Regions from separate parts of the Homo sapiens genome. Here region 1 is linked to region 2. The links are contacts of gene promoters, found by promoter capture Hi-C in human tissues and cell types (Jung and others, 2019). All regions are on one chromosome and are shown on one strand. Each heading gives the region's core, a stretch centred on a gene start or on the middle of the fragment in contact. The rest is flanking DNA. Distances are from core to core; before and after follow the strand shown.

What was found. Contacts are between HindIII fragments. The study calls those that stand out against the background at their distance.
Region 1: a fragment that was not itself captured here is called in contact with the fragment with the promoter of RIMS3 in region 2 in 1 of the 25 tissues and cell types used here (aorta).

The regions. Positions count from the first base shown.
Region 1 is chr1:40,941,510-40,948,854 of GRCh38, reverse strand. It overlaps the pseudogene UBE2V1P8. Among named protein-coding and RNA genes, the nearest start is that of CTPS1, 35 kb to the left of the region's middle. RefSeq lists an enhancer at 3,525-4,024. The HindIII fragment of the contact is 5,918 bases long and covers 1,838-7,345 here.
Region 2 is chr1:40,663,833-40,670,579 of GRCh38, reverse strand. It overlaps RIMS3 (regulating synaptic membrane exocytosis 3), which reads left to right and starts at 4,898. Exons shown (of 8, transcript NM_014747.3): 1 at 4,898-5,186. It overlaps LOC105378675 (a long non-coding RNA gene), which reads right to left. Exons shown (of 2, transcript XR_947238.3): 2 at 2,904-4,592. RefSeq lists enhancers at 1,410-1,459, 1,520-1,669, 6,630-6,747 and a silencer at 4,753-5,182. The HindIII fragment of the contact is 12,473 bases long and covers 4,110-6,747 here.

The DNA.
Region 1 (7,345 bases), core at 3,547-6,046, 280 kb before region 2:
AGTTAGCCCTGGTGTCTGCCCTAGGGAAGCTCACAGTATGGGGTGGGAAGGGGAGGCTGCTATTCCCGCACTCTGCGAAAGGGCTGCTGGATAGGGTAGCTTTACTGTTAAGGGTGGGACTGCACTGTATTTAGGGCATGTTTACTATGCCCCAGTGAGCCCTGGGCAACACAAGGGCCCCTTTGGCTCTCTTGGCTCTGAAAAGGAAGCCAGGAGTCTTGGTGGGAAACCTCTAATAGCCGGGGGAGGGAAACGCTGTCCGGGAGAAAACCCTATTTGTTAGCAGTCTGGGAGTCATCTGTCCTTCCAGGCCGACTTTTAGTAACCATAACATCAGTTAAAATAATTTTTTTTTTTTTTTTGACACGAAGACTTGCTCTACTGCCCAGGCTGGAGTGCAGTGGTGGGAGCTCGGTCCACTGCAACTTCTGCCTCCCGGGTTCAAGCAATTCTGCTTCAGCCTCCCGAGTAGCTGGGATTACAGGTGTGCGCAACCATGCCTAGCTAATTTTTGTATTTTTAGTAGAAATGGGGTTTCACCATGTTGGCCAGACTGGTCTCAAACTCCTGACCTCAAGTGATCCATCTGCCTTGACCTTAAAATAATTTTTAATAAAGATGATTTTTAACATTGTTACAAAAGTAGTAATGTGCTCAATGAAAAAAATTTCAGTGATAGAGAAATAAAATGAATTTCAATCTTTGCCTTCAATCTGTCTCACTGTTAACACTTTAGTATGTTAATTTCCAGGTATACATAATAGATATTATAATCATATAGCTACATATGTGTATGTGTTTTTATAATCAAATATATGTGGAAAGAGCTAGAGAGATTATTGTCTTTCTTTTTTATTTTTTTATTTTTTGAGACGGAGTTTCACTCTTGTCTCCCAGGCTGGACTCCAATGACGTGATCTCGGCTCACTGCAACCTCCGTCTCCCTGGTTCAAGCCATTCTCATGCCTCAGCCTCCCGACTAGCTGGGATTACAGGCACGTGCCACCATGCGCAGCTAATTTTTGTATTTTTAATAGAGACGGGGTTTTGCCATGTTGGCCAGGCTGGTCTTAGAACTCGTGACCTCAGGTAATCCACCCACCTTGGCCTCCCAAAGTGCTGGGATTACAGGCATGAGCCATTGCGCCTGGCCAAGAGATCATTTTCAAAATATAAATAAAAATATAATAAAATATTAGGCCGGTCGTGGTGGCTCACACCTGTAATCCCAGCACTTTGGGAGGCTGAGGAGGGTGGATCACCTGAGGTCAGGAGTTTGAGACCAGCCTAGCCAACATGGTGAAACTCCGTCAAACCCTGTCTCTACTAAAATTACAAAATATTAGCTGGGTGTGATGACACGCGCCTGTAATCCCAGCTACTTGGGAGCCTGAGGCATGAGAATTGCTTGAACCCAGGAGATGGAGGTTGCAGTGAGCTGAGATCGCACCCCTACACTCCACCCTGAAGGTTAGAGCAAGACTCTGTCTCAAAAAAAAAGTATATATATATATATATCTATATATAATATTAAACATATAAAAATACCTGTTATAACATGTTATCTATATAATAATATATCTTATAGATATACAATATACCTGTTATTCAAATTGCTTTGTCTTCCAAACGGAGAACTAATTTCCATGTTGGCAGGTGTAGATGGATCTCCCTCATTCTTTTTATCAGCTGTATAGTATGGACACACCATGAGGTACCCAATTCTCTGGTGATACTCATGCAATTCCTGTCTTTTGTTATTATAAACAATGCTGCAAAGAACCACTATATATTTCTCTTTGCTCACTTTTGCCATTATTTCAATAAAATAAATTCTCAAAGGTGGAATGGATTTGATCAAAGGGCACATAAATATAAAGTTCTGATGAAATAGATGAATTTCTTTCCAAAAATAATATTGCAATTTGCATTTGCCCCAGGAGTGATGAGATACCAACTGACACGCTCCCCAACACTGGGTGCCTTTTAATTTTTGCAGTCTGATACATGAAATATATTATCCCATTGTTGTTTTCATTTGGATTTCTGTGGAGTCAAACATCTCTTCCTGAGTTGATTGGCCATTTGAATGTCATCTTCTATAAAGTGTATTTTCCCATGTCGTTTGTCTATTTTTCTTTTCTTTTCTTTTTTTGAGACAGAGTCTCACTCTGTTGTCCAGGCTGGAGTGCAGTGGTGTGATCTTGGCTTACTGCAACTTCCTCCTCCCAGGGTCAAGTGATTCCCCTGCCTCAGCCTCCCAAGTAGCTGGGACTACAGGCACCCACCACCATGCCTGGCTAATTTTTGTATTTTTGGTAGAGACAGGGTTTTACCATGTTACCTAGGCTGGTCTTAAACTACTGACCTCAACTGAACCACCCGCCTAGGCCTCTGTAAGTGTTGGGATTACAGGTGTGAGCCACCACGCCTGATTATATTTTTCTTACTCATGGTTTTCTTCCTTCCTTTGTACTTTTTAAATATTTTAAAATAATTAATTAATTTTCTTTTTTTTGAGGCAGAGTCTCACCCTGTTGCCCAGGCTATAGTACAATGGCGTGATCTCGGCTCACTGCAACCTCCACCTCCCAGGTTCAAGTGATTCTCCTGCCTCACCCATCCAAGTAGCTGGGGTCACAGGTGTGTGCCACTACACTGGGCTCATTTTTTGTAACTTCAGTAGAGATGGGGTTTCACCATGTTGGCCAGGCTGGTCTCAAACTCCTGACCTTGTGATCTGCCCACCTTGGCCTCCCAAAGTGCTGGGATTACAAGCGTCAGCAACTGCACCCAGCCTGTACTTTTTTTTTTTAAGTTGATTTGTAGGAGGTCTTTGCATATCAGGTTATTAGCTCTCATCTGCCATGTGGAAAGCAAATCAGTATTTTTTATAATTTAGTGTTTGTCATTTGCCTTGCATATGTTTTTTCCCCCTACAGAAGTTTAAAAATATTTATGTAGTAAGATCTGTCCATCTTTTCCTTGATAACTTCTGGGATTTGTGTCATATTTTAGAAAGATTTTCTCCACTCCATGATTAGGAAAACATTCTCTGATATTTTCTTCTAGCATGTTTATGGTTTTGTTTTTTACCAATGCATACTTAATCCATCTGGAATTTATTTCAGTGCATGCAGTAAGTTAGAGATTCAGTTTGGTTTTTTTCCAGATGGCTCATCAACATGTAGTTTCCCCTTACATATGTGAAATGCCACCCTTATCATACACCAGATTTTCTTATGTGTTTAGGTCTATTTGTGAATTCAATTCCACTTTACTTCTTTGTCTTCAGTTTCTGAGCTAACACGCTTTAATTATCGTAACTTTGAACATGCTCATAATCTTTTCCAAACCTTTCTCACTATAATAGCAACAAATCTCCTGAGAAGCTGCACACCCTTTCTTTGGCTCTGTTAATGTCTCTACAATGAGGCCAAACAGTCTCCTCAAGGTGACTGTAAATCTTTCCGCCCACTTTCCTTTGTTTATTCCACACTGCGCACCTGCTCTGTGTCTTGGCTGTGTGGGATCAGGAGAGACAGAGGGAACAACACAGATGCAGACCCAGCTTTACATGCTAACTTCAGTGATTAACCCTCAAGGCCACTGCAATTTTCATGATGACAAGTTCAGGGACACTGAACTTGCTCCCAGGGACTCTCCTGGAAACCATGCCCGGATCTCATTGCTTTCGGATGCCCTCGAGCCATGGCTCAGCCAAGGCCAGTGGTAACAGAGCCAAAAGAAGTTAAATTTTAAATAAACCTGACTTCCTCTCCAACATTGTTAGAGAAACCCTGATCCAGTTCATTCCGTTCCCATTAGATAAGAAAAAGCCAAAAAAGATGCAGTCATTGGGAACTGTGGTATGCTGTGAGCTTTTGGAAATGGATTCTTTTCTTTCTTTGCTTTGCTTTGCTTTGCTTTGCTTTGCTTTGCTTTGCTTTGCTTTGCTTTGCTTGCTTTCTTCCTTCCTTCCTTTCTTTCTTTCTTTCTTTCTTTCTTTCTTTCTTTCTTTCTTTCTTTCTTTCTTACCTTTGTTTTTTCCTGGAAGGGAAGAAAATGGAAGAAAGACTCTTGAGAAGGCTAACTTGTCTGGAAATGGTCTTTGAAGCTCAGCAGTGAGAAGACAGCATATTATGGGTCTGGTCCTGTGACCTTGAGCACGTCATTGAACGTCTCTGGACCCCATTTCACAAACATTCAGGCCCAACAAATAGGCGCTGTGCCAGAAGCTTTATTTATGTACAGTCTTATTGGATGCTCAGAACATTCTTATGAGGTAGAATCATTACTCCCTGGTTTACGCACAAGAATACCAAGATTCAAAAGGGAAATAGACAGTATGCCTGAGGCCACTTATTTGGAAGGAGCAGAGCCAGCAGAGGGTGCTTCTCCCTGTTACTGGGCAGAGTAGCGGGGGTGGAGTGGGGCAGGGTTCATCACCCCTGCCAGGAATCAGGACCCACGATGAAGCTACAGCCATTAAGACAGTACGGTATCCACATAGGGACAGACACATTGACCCCTGAGAAGGAGTAGAGAGACCAGAATCAGATCCACATATATATGGTATATATATGCGGCAGGAGTGGCATATCACAGCGAAGAAAGGGAGGATGGGCCAATAAACAGAGCTGGAAAAATTACTTCACAACATAAACAAAGATCCGCACTAGATGTTTTAAGGACTTAAATTTAAAAAAATAAAACTTTAAAACTATTAGTAGAAAATATAGGTGGACTGCCTGTGGTCCCAGCTACTCAGGAGGCTGAGGTGGGAGGATCTCCTGAGCCCAGGGAGGTCGAGGCTACAGTGAGCCATGATCATACCACTGCACTCTAGTCTAGGGGATAGAGCAAGCCCCTTAAAAAAAAAAAACAAAAAACTTCTACAATTCAGTAAGAAAGAAAAATGGACACAAAAGGTATGAGCAGGAGTTTTTTGTTTGTTTGTTTGTTTGTTTTGAGATGGAGTTTTGCTCTTGTTGCCCAGGCTGGAGTGCAATGGCACAATCTCGGCTCACCACAACCTCCACCTCCCGGGTTCAAGTGATTCTCCTGCCTCAGCCTCCCGAGTAGCTGGGATTACAGGCACGCGCCACCACGCCCGGCTAAGTTTTTGTATTTTTAGTAGAGACGGGGTTTCTTCATGTTGGTCAGGCTGATCTCGAGCTCACGACCTCAGGTGATCCACCCCCCTCAGCCTCCCAAAGTGCTGGGATTACAGGCGTGAGCCACCATGGCTGGCCAAGCAGGCATTTAAGAGAAGAAGAAACACATATAGCCAGTAAGTTTAAAGAGATGTCGAACGTTGTTAGTGATCAGGAAAACACAAACCAAGGCTCGGTGAAATACCATTTTACATCCCTTCAATTTTCAACAGTTTAAAGTTTCATAATATGGAGTGTTGGAAGGATGTAGAGCTCCAGGATCTCTTGCATATTGCTGGTGGAAATTTAAATTGGTGACACCATTATGGAAAGGTCTGGCATAATCTTCTAAAACCAAACATTCTTATAGCTTATAACCCAGCAGTTTTACCCTAGCTGCACTGTCCATTCAGTAAAACTGGAAACCATCTGGGATCAGTTGCATTTGCTCATAATTATTAATTCCCTCTTCACCTTGCTAGGCCTCTTCGTTGGAAAAAGACCCTTTCCTAGGAGAGCTGCAGCTGACTCTTGGCCTCACAGAATGAGAACTAGAAATAAATGTTTGCTACAACAAGCCATTGAAGTACTGGGGTTGTTTTTTTCCTGTAGGAAAGGATGAAAACACACCCTATGCTAAATGGGATAGGACAGTGATGAATAGACCTTGGTATGCTCATGTATGGTACACAATAGACAGCAATCAAGATGAATGAACTGCAGGGACATGCCTCAGATATGAATTAATCTTGCCAATCTAATAGTAAGTGAGAAAAGTAGATCTCAAAAGATTATAGGCTGGGCACAGTGGCTCACGCCTGTAATCCCAGCACTTTGGGAGGCTGAGGTGGGCGGATCACAAGGTCAGGAGCTCGAGATCAGCCTGGACAACATAGTGAAACCCCGTAGTCTCTACTAAAAATACAAAAAATTAGCTGGGCGTGGTGGTGTGCACCTGTAATCCCAGCTACTCGGGAGGCTGAGGCAGGAGAATCGCTTGCACCCGGGAGGCAGAGGTTGCAGTGAGCCGAGACTGTGCCACTGCACTCCAGCCTGGGTGACAGAGCAAGACTCCGTATCAGGGAAAAAAAAAAGATTATATTATTTCGCGAAGTTAAAAATGACTAACATTAAAAGTACTCTTTTGAGCCTTTGAGCAACAGCAACACAAGATGGTAGCCAATTTATGAAAACAGAATATGCAGCTACAAAAATAGAATATGGACCTAAATACTCCACAGCACCTCCGTTTGTAAGATTTGTAACAAAAATTAATAAGAATGGAGTTAGTAGTTCTAATGGAGTGGTGGACCAAGAACCTTATTAGTGCTAGCAAAATGGCAGAATCCATATAACATCAAAGTTGTCCTGCAAGAGCTTCAGCGCCTAAAGATGTCTAGTGAAAACATGAAACTCCCTCAGCTGCCTGAAGGACAGCATTACAGCAATTATCCAAAAGGAAAACCACAGGCCCTTTTCCTTCCCCCTGGAGTTTGCTTTAAACGACTTCATTTTCCACAGTAGTAAATTTTCTAGATACATCTCGTAGACCTCAAAGTACAGGAAAAGAAGCTCACTCAAAGGAAATTTATCTTAAGATACTGTAAATGATACTAATTTTGGTCCATTTGAAACATATAAGTTGTGCTATAACCAAAAATGTACTCTTAAGGAATACATATTATTGCAAGAAATTATAACAAGGAAAACGAGAATGGTGAGCAGACAGGACCCAGGCTGATGGGGACCTGGTGCCAGGGAAGGAAGGCTGACTCATCCATGAAGCACCATAGGCACCATGCCTAGGGCCCAAAATACTTTTAGAGGTCCATGAAAATGTGTTTTTTGTTTTGTTTTGTTTTGTTTTTTGAGACAGAGTCTCACTCTGTCGCCCAGGCTGGAGTGCCGTTGTGCTATCTTAGCTCACTGCAACCTCTGCCTCCTGGTTCAAGCGATTCTCGTGCCTCAGCCTCCCGAGTAGCTGGAACTACAGGCACGCGCCACCATGCCTGACCAATTTTTAATTTTTGTATTTTTTGTAAAGACGGGGGCCTCGCTATGTTGCCCAGGCTGGTCTCGAACTCCTGAGCTCATGATCCACCAGCCTCAGCCTCCCAAAGTGCTGGGATTACAGAAGTGAGCCACCGCACCCGGCCATTATTATCTTTTTAATCAGAAGAAACTAATGA
Region 2 (6,747 bases), core at 3,649-6,148:
ATATAAAATTATAACTAACACTTATGGAAAATTTATATCCTAAGGTCTGTTCTAAGAACTTTACACATATTAACTCATTTAATCCTCATAACTCTAAATATTCCCATTATACAGACAAGGAAACAGAAACTCAGAGAAGCAACTTCAGGGCCTTTGTGTAAGCTCTTACCCATCCTTGGCTTGTTGATCTGGCTGACTGCTATTCAAGCTTCAGATGGGATGCCTTGGGGAGCATTCAAAGATCTCCCTGTCTAGGCCAGTCCCTCCCATAGCATCTAACCCAGTTTTTATTATACAATTATTTAGGGGGTGATTTGGTTCATGTCTGTCACCCCCATAGGCTTTAAATTCCATGTTTTGCTCATAATTATATCTTGAATATTCAACATATAATAAATACTTGATATTTGTTGAATGAATCAATGAAAAGCATTTTCAGTAAGAGAGGGGATGTGGTCAGATTTGTTTTAGAAGGATTTCTCTTGTGTAAAAGTTTGAAGGTGGTGAGACCAAGTCACCAACAGCAGCTGAATTCAGGAGTGACAGGAAGGCAGGCTGGACTAGAGGAGAGGCAAGAGGGATGGAGAGAAGTGGGTGAACCTAGGAAGTATTTAGGAAGCAAACTGGATGGCTCTGATAATTAAGTGGATAGAAGTGAGGAAGAGGAAGGAATCAGGAGGGACTCCCAAGTTTCTGAGAGCACCTTGAACTGGGGTGAGAAAGCATCTGCAAAGGAGGCAGGTTGGGTTGGCAGAGCAGGCTGTCCCTAGACCCAAGCAACTGAAACATGGAAAAGCTTTCAAAAAAATCTTTGCACCCAAACTCCTTAGCTTGGTCCTGGTGTACTTTATTCAGCCCCATCTGTGGTCTACCCCCAAACTCAGAGCATATAGATCACTGCTCCTCCCCCAAGCCCCACTTGTCATCCAGCCCACCTTAGTAAGTGCCACCCCACTACTCTCTCTCCACAAGATGCAGCTTGGAGGACGTCTCCTCTGGGATCCCTCCCCACTGCCCCCACCGCTTCCTGGGGTGAATGAGTCCTCTGTAGCCATCAGGATTCGCTGTATCAGGAGTGTTCCTCTGCTGTCACCTCTGATGACTATTTTCCTCAATTCAGAATCCCCAGCACCTGCAAAAGGCCTGGATAAAGGTAAACCTCAAAAAAGTTTGTTTTATTGAATTTTCCCAAAGGTTTGGCTTTATTACATTAAGAGCTGAGGCCAGGAATGTGGCAGTAAATTCTGGTGCCACCACTTAGAAAGACAAGTCACTTTTTTCAAGCCTCAGTTTCCGTCCATCAAATGGAGATAAGAATACAGTGCACCTACCTCGAAGAGCTGTTTTGAGGGGAAAATGAAATATGCTAGGTTAAGTGTTTAACACAATGCCTGGAACATGGTTAGTTCCCTCAAAAAATTAGCTGTTATTTATTTATTTTTAAATTCTCGCCTTGATGCTCAGAAGGGGCTGAGCAGGAACAGAGGATTGCAGTTCTTAGGATGGCCACGCGAGGGAAGTGGTGAGCAGCCTCCAGGAGGACTTCGGCTCGGCTGTGCCAAGGCACCTGCTGAGGACCCAGATGGCCCGCCTGGGGTTTCCGGGACTTCCCGGCCCCTAAACATGTGGGCGCTGGCCAGAGCGCCGCAGGAGAAGCCTCTGCCAGGTGCTCGGTCTCGACTCTCACAGCCCCAGCCATCCCTCCTGCTCGTCCCCGTCTCGGCTTGGAGGGGCTGGCGGGCAGGAGGGGACAGGGTAGGGGGCAACCAGGATATATCCCCTCCGTTTTGTCATTTGTCTTTCAAACTGACTTATGGCCATTTCTTCTGTATAGAAGCCTTGTAGTCAAACATTTCCATGTTTTCTCTTATGGCTTCTAGGTTTCATCATGCTTAGAAAGTCTTTTCCATCTCCAAGATTATTAAAATATTCACTCATGTCTTTTTTCTGATACATTATGGTGTTAAATATGTGGTCCACCTGGAATTTATTTCAGTGTCGAATAAGGGCACAGCTTTTTGTAATTTCCCCAAAAGACTTGCTGGTTATTCCACCCATTTGATCTCCGCCACCAACCCCCCCCCCCCCGCCCACAACCCCCTACCAACTCCGCCCCCCATTTGTCTGAAGTGCTGTCTTTTATTCATTCATTCATTTAGAGACAAGGTCTTGCTCTGTTGCCCAGGCTGGAGTGCAGTGGCGTGATCACAGCTCACTGCAGCCTTGACCTCCCAGGCTCAGGTAATCCTCCCACTTCAGCCTCCCTGGTAGCTGGGACTACAGGTGTGTGCAATCATGCCCAGATAAATTTTTTTTTTTTTTTTTTTTTTGAGACAGAGTCTTGCTCTGTTACCAGGCTGGAGTGCAGTGGTGCGATCTCAGTTCACTGCAACCTCCGCCTCCTGGGTTCAAGCGATTCTCCTGCCTCAGTCTCCCAAGTAGTTGGGACTACAGGTGCATGCCACCACACCCAGCTAATTTTTGTATTTTTAGTTGAGACAGGGTTTCACCATGTTGGCTAGGATGGTCTCAATCTCTTGATCTTGTGATCCGCCTGCCTCGGCCTCCCAAAGTGCTGGGATTACAGGTGTGAGCCACCGCCCCCGGCCACAAGTTTTGTATTTTTTTATAGAGACAAAGTTTTGCCATGTTGCCCAGGCTAGTCTCAAGTGATCTGCCCGCCTCAACCTCCCAAAGTTTTGGGATTACTGGCATGAGCCACTGTGCCGGGCCTGAAGTGCTATCTTTATCATACATTGAATTCCCTTGTGGGGCTGGATCCATTTCCATACTCCATTTTGTTCCACAGATCGGTCTAGTCCTGCTTCAATACCATACTGCTTTAAATACATTGACTTTATAGTATGTTTTAGTATCGGGTAAGACAAATCCCTTTTCATTACTTTTCTTCCTGGACTTTTTATTCCTGTATGTTTATTCTTCTATATACACTTAAGAATCAACCCCCTCTCCACCCACCTCCCATCCAGTCCTTCTGGTAACCAATATAGAACTTTGAAGATACTGAAATTATATGCAAAATATACATTGCACATCTCCAGAGAGATAGTGCTAAGTTTTCATCAGATGTGCAAAGGGAACCCCTGGTTTACCTGTCTCTGTGAAAGGGGCCAGGGAGGAGCACACAGGAAGCCTGATTCCTCTCTGTGCTCCCACCCCTCACCTCCACCCTCGTTCCAGGTCCTGCCCTGGCCTCCATCCCACCTCCCCTAATCTAGTCCCCCTTGCTGCTCCAGAGTAACCCATTCTACCACCCAGGCCCTAGTCCAGGCCTAGGCCTGAGGTAGAATAGCTGATAACAAAGCTTTAATTAATATGTAAATATAATCAGGAGCCCCAGCTCCACCTCTGACCAGCTATGGAACGCACTTTGAGGCTTTTCACATTGTAGGGCCTCAGTTTATGCTTCTCACAGACCAGGTGAGAAGGGAAGGCGTAGGATGACTATGCCTCCTAGCAATCCCCAGGAGGATCCTTTAATCCCAATAATTTTCCTTTTTCTCCCCACCTTCCCACTCCCCATTTACTTTTTTTTGAGACAGAGTTCCCCCTGTCACTCAGGCTGGAGTGCAGTGGTGCGACCTCGGCTCACTGCAACCTCCGCCTCCTGGGTTCAAGTGATTCTCGTACCTCAGCCTCCCGAGTAGCTGGGACTATAGTTGTGTGCCACCACACCTGGCTAATTTTTGTATTTTTAGTAGAGATGGGGTTTCACCATGTTGGCCAGGTTGATCTCGAACTCCCAGCCTCAAGCAATCCACCCACCTTGGCCTCCCAAAACACTGGTACAGGCATGAGCCACCGCACCCAGCTCCCATTTACATTTTAATTCATGCCCTCAGCAGGGAGACTACTGGTTTTACATGCCTCCAGCAAATATTAATTATTCTGTCCTCTCTGTCAGTGGGTGGAATTCAAAACACTGGAGCCCAAGAGTGGAACTGACCAGTCCTAAGCAAGGTTAAATATACAAGTTGGGGCAGGCACGACCCTAGGAAAGACTTCATACAGTATCCTCCCGGGCTGCAGAAGAACCCAGGACTCCAGGAGTCTATTTGGAAGTTTATATAGGCAGATGCCAGGCCCTAGAACAGAGTTTCTCAACCTCAGAAACCTGCTGACATTTCGGGCCTGACAATTCTCTGGCGCAGGGGCTGTCCTGTGCATTGAAGGCGTGTAGCAGCATCCCTGGTCTCTTCTCATGAGACGCCAGTAGCAACCTCCTCGTTGGGAAAACCAAAAATGTCTCCAGACATGGTCGAATGTTCCCTGGGGGGCAAAATCGCCCCAAGTTTAAAACCATTGCTCTAGAAGTAGAGAGCGCAGGGGAAGCAGGTTAACTTGGGCTTCAGGGCCGGCCACTCTACTTCCTTCTGTCTGAAAGGGACATTATAAAGTCTTTCTCTTCATACCAGGCACTTGGGCAAGTCTTTTCTCCTATCTGAGCTTCAGATTTTCCATCTGTAAAATGGACTTGACGTTTGTAAGTCGTTTCTTCTCTTACCATCTGACGTTCCTGGAACTGCTTCAGGGCAGGGCAGGGCAGGGGGCGCCGTGGTGCCTGTGAGGTCCTGGGAGGTGCCCCAAAGAAAAGGAAGGATGAGAAAGAACAGATAGGGTAGGTGGTGGAGAGGGGAGGCCGGGCAGGAGGCAAGAGAGTCCTAGGGACACGGAGAGGAATGAGGCTTCCCCAGACCCCGCTTCTTGGAAGCCTCATTAATGTAGGTCCCCCAACCACAACCCGGCAAGCCAAACTCCCCGGATTCCCCTAGGCCCCGCCCACCACCAAGGTCCGGCCCACTGGCCCCGCCCATCCACGCGGCCCCGCCCCCGGCAGGCCCCGCCTCCCCTTCGCCTCCCGCCGGCCCAAGCTTGGGCTTTGCACCCGGCGGCGACTGAAAACGGTGGCTGCTGCGGAGCCGGCAGCGCAGGCGGGCGGAGCGGAGCTGCCCCCGTGGTGGCGGGCGATGCCCCCGTGAGCCTCCCTCGCCGCCCCTCCCCGCCCCGCGTGCCTATCCACTCGGAGTCCGCGCCAGCCTGGGGCCGGGCCGCGCCTACTGCCGGGTTCGCGGGGCGGGGTCCCGGGGCAGCACCTGCCCCGCCTTGCGGAGCCGCCTCGGCCTGTGGAGGCCCCCTCCCTGTCTGGACCCCGGCCCCACCTCCGGGTAAGTCAGCAGGCCTTGCTCGCCTGGGAGTGGACGTGGGGAGGGGGCTGCAGAGGTCTGGAGGACCACGGGGGGAGGGGGGCTCTGGCCATGAAGCGCAACGTAGGTATGTGAGTGTGCAGGGGCGGGGGTGGGGGGATGAACACAGGGTGTGAGAGGGCTCTGGGGAGGGGACTAAGGGATGAGAGAGGGACGTGGGGTGTTTGGGGAAGCCTGGAAAATGGGGAAGGGGGCCCAGAGTCTTGAGTTCTTTGCTGATGCTCAGAGCTCCTGGGGCCCTGGTCTTCAACAGCATTGCCTGGCATGGCATTTTTGGAAAGTGCTTAAAATCCCTCCTGGAAAGGGAGCTGGAAGGCAGCCTGCTTTTCTCCCTTCTGCCTGTGCCCTGGTTGAGAAGCAGCCACTTTTTCCTCAACGTGACACCGTTGTGGTGTCCAGAGGACCCCCTCCACCCCATAAAAGAAAAGGAGTGCTGCTTACTCCAGCCCTGGGGTGGGAAGAGGGGGCTTTGGGAAGCTGGGAATGCAGTTGGTCAGCAGCATGGTGCAGAGCCCAGGGTTCAGGGAGGCTTGGCAGGACCCTTGATGGGCAACTTGGGCATGCTCTCATTCATAGGGAGGAGCTCTTCCCTGACTGGCCGCCTGGGTACCTGGACTCCATGTCCCCATCACCTCTGGACAACTCAGCCCTGAGGAGTGGGTTTCTTCAGTGTCCTGGTCCTGAAGGCTCAGGAAGGATCCTGGAATGGGGTGGGCAATGGCATATCAAGGCTGGAGAACAGGGGGCATTGGCTGGCACTGCCACTTGGGGCCTGTTTCAATGTGGTCCTTCAGGGCTTGGACACCTGGGTGAATATGTGTCCAACCCTAGCCCCAGGGGTGTTATCAGGATGTAGGGAAGAAGGCTGCTGCTCCTTTGGTCCTGTCCTCTATCCATGATGACTTCTTAAGTCTGGGTTCCTTGGGTTTGGGGCCTGAAGTCATGGGAGGAGGATTGGGCCTGGTCAACAAGGGGTTAATGAGCCATCTCCCCCACCCCACCATAGTTGCTGCCAGCCACCAATTAGTCTGTAATCAGGCAGCTGCCAACTGTCCCTGGGGGCATGTGGGTAGCCTAATGGGGCATTCTTGGTTGGGAGGCGGGGTGGGTGGGTTGGCAGGGATGTGCTGGGGAGGTGACCCATGTGCCCTGTGCTTAAACCAAGCACCATGCCCTTTGTTGTTTGTTTAGGGCCCACAGACCCCTTCCCTGCCTTCTGTTCCTGACTGCCTTGCTTAGGGACTTCCAGCCCTGGGGTTCTACACTTATCCGACCCTTTGCAGGGTATGAAGCCCAGAGTTGGTTAAACTTGGCTTCAAACCCAAGCTCTGCCACTTTCTGGCTGTGTGATATTGAGGAAATCACTTCCCCTCTCTGAGACTCTTTCAGTAAAACAAACCCAGCTGCTATGTGGGTAGCAGGAAGGAGTGAGTGAAATGGTGGATTTGAGCTGCGCAGCACAGTGCCTGGCACTCAGGAGGGCTCAGCAGCTAACTGCTGAACTCATGAGCAACCCCTGTGC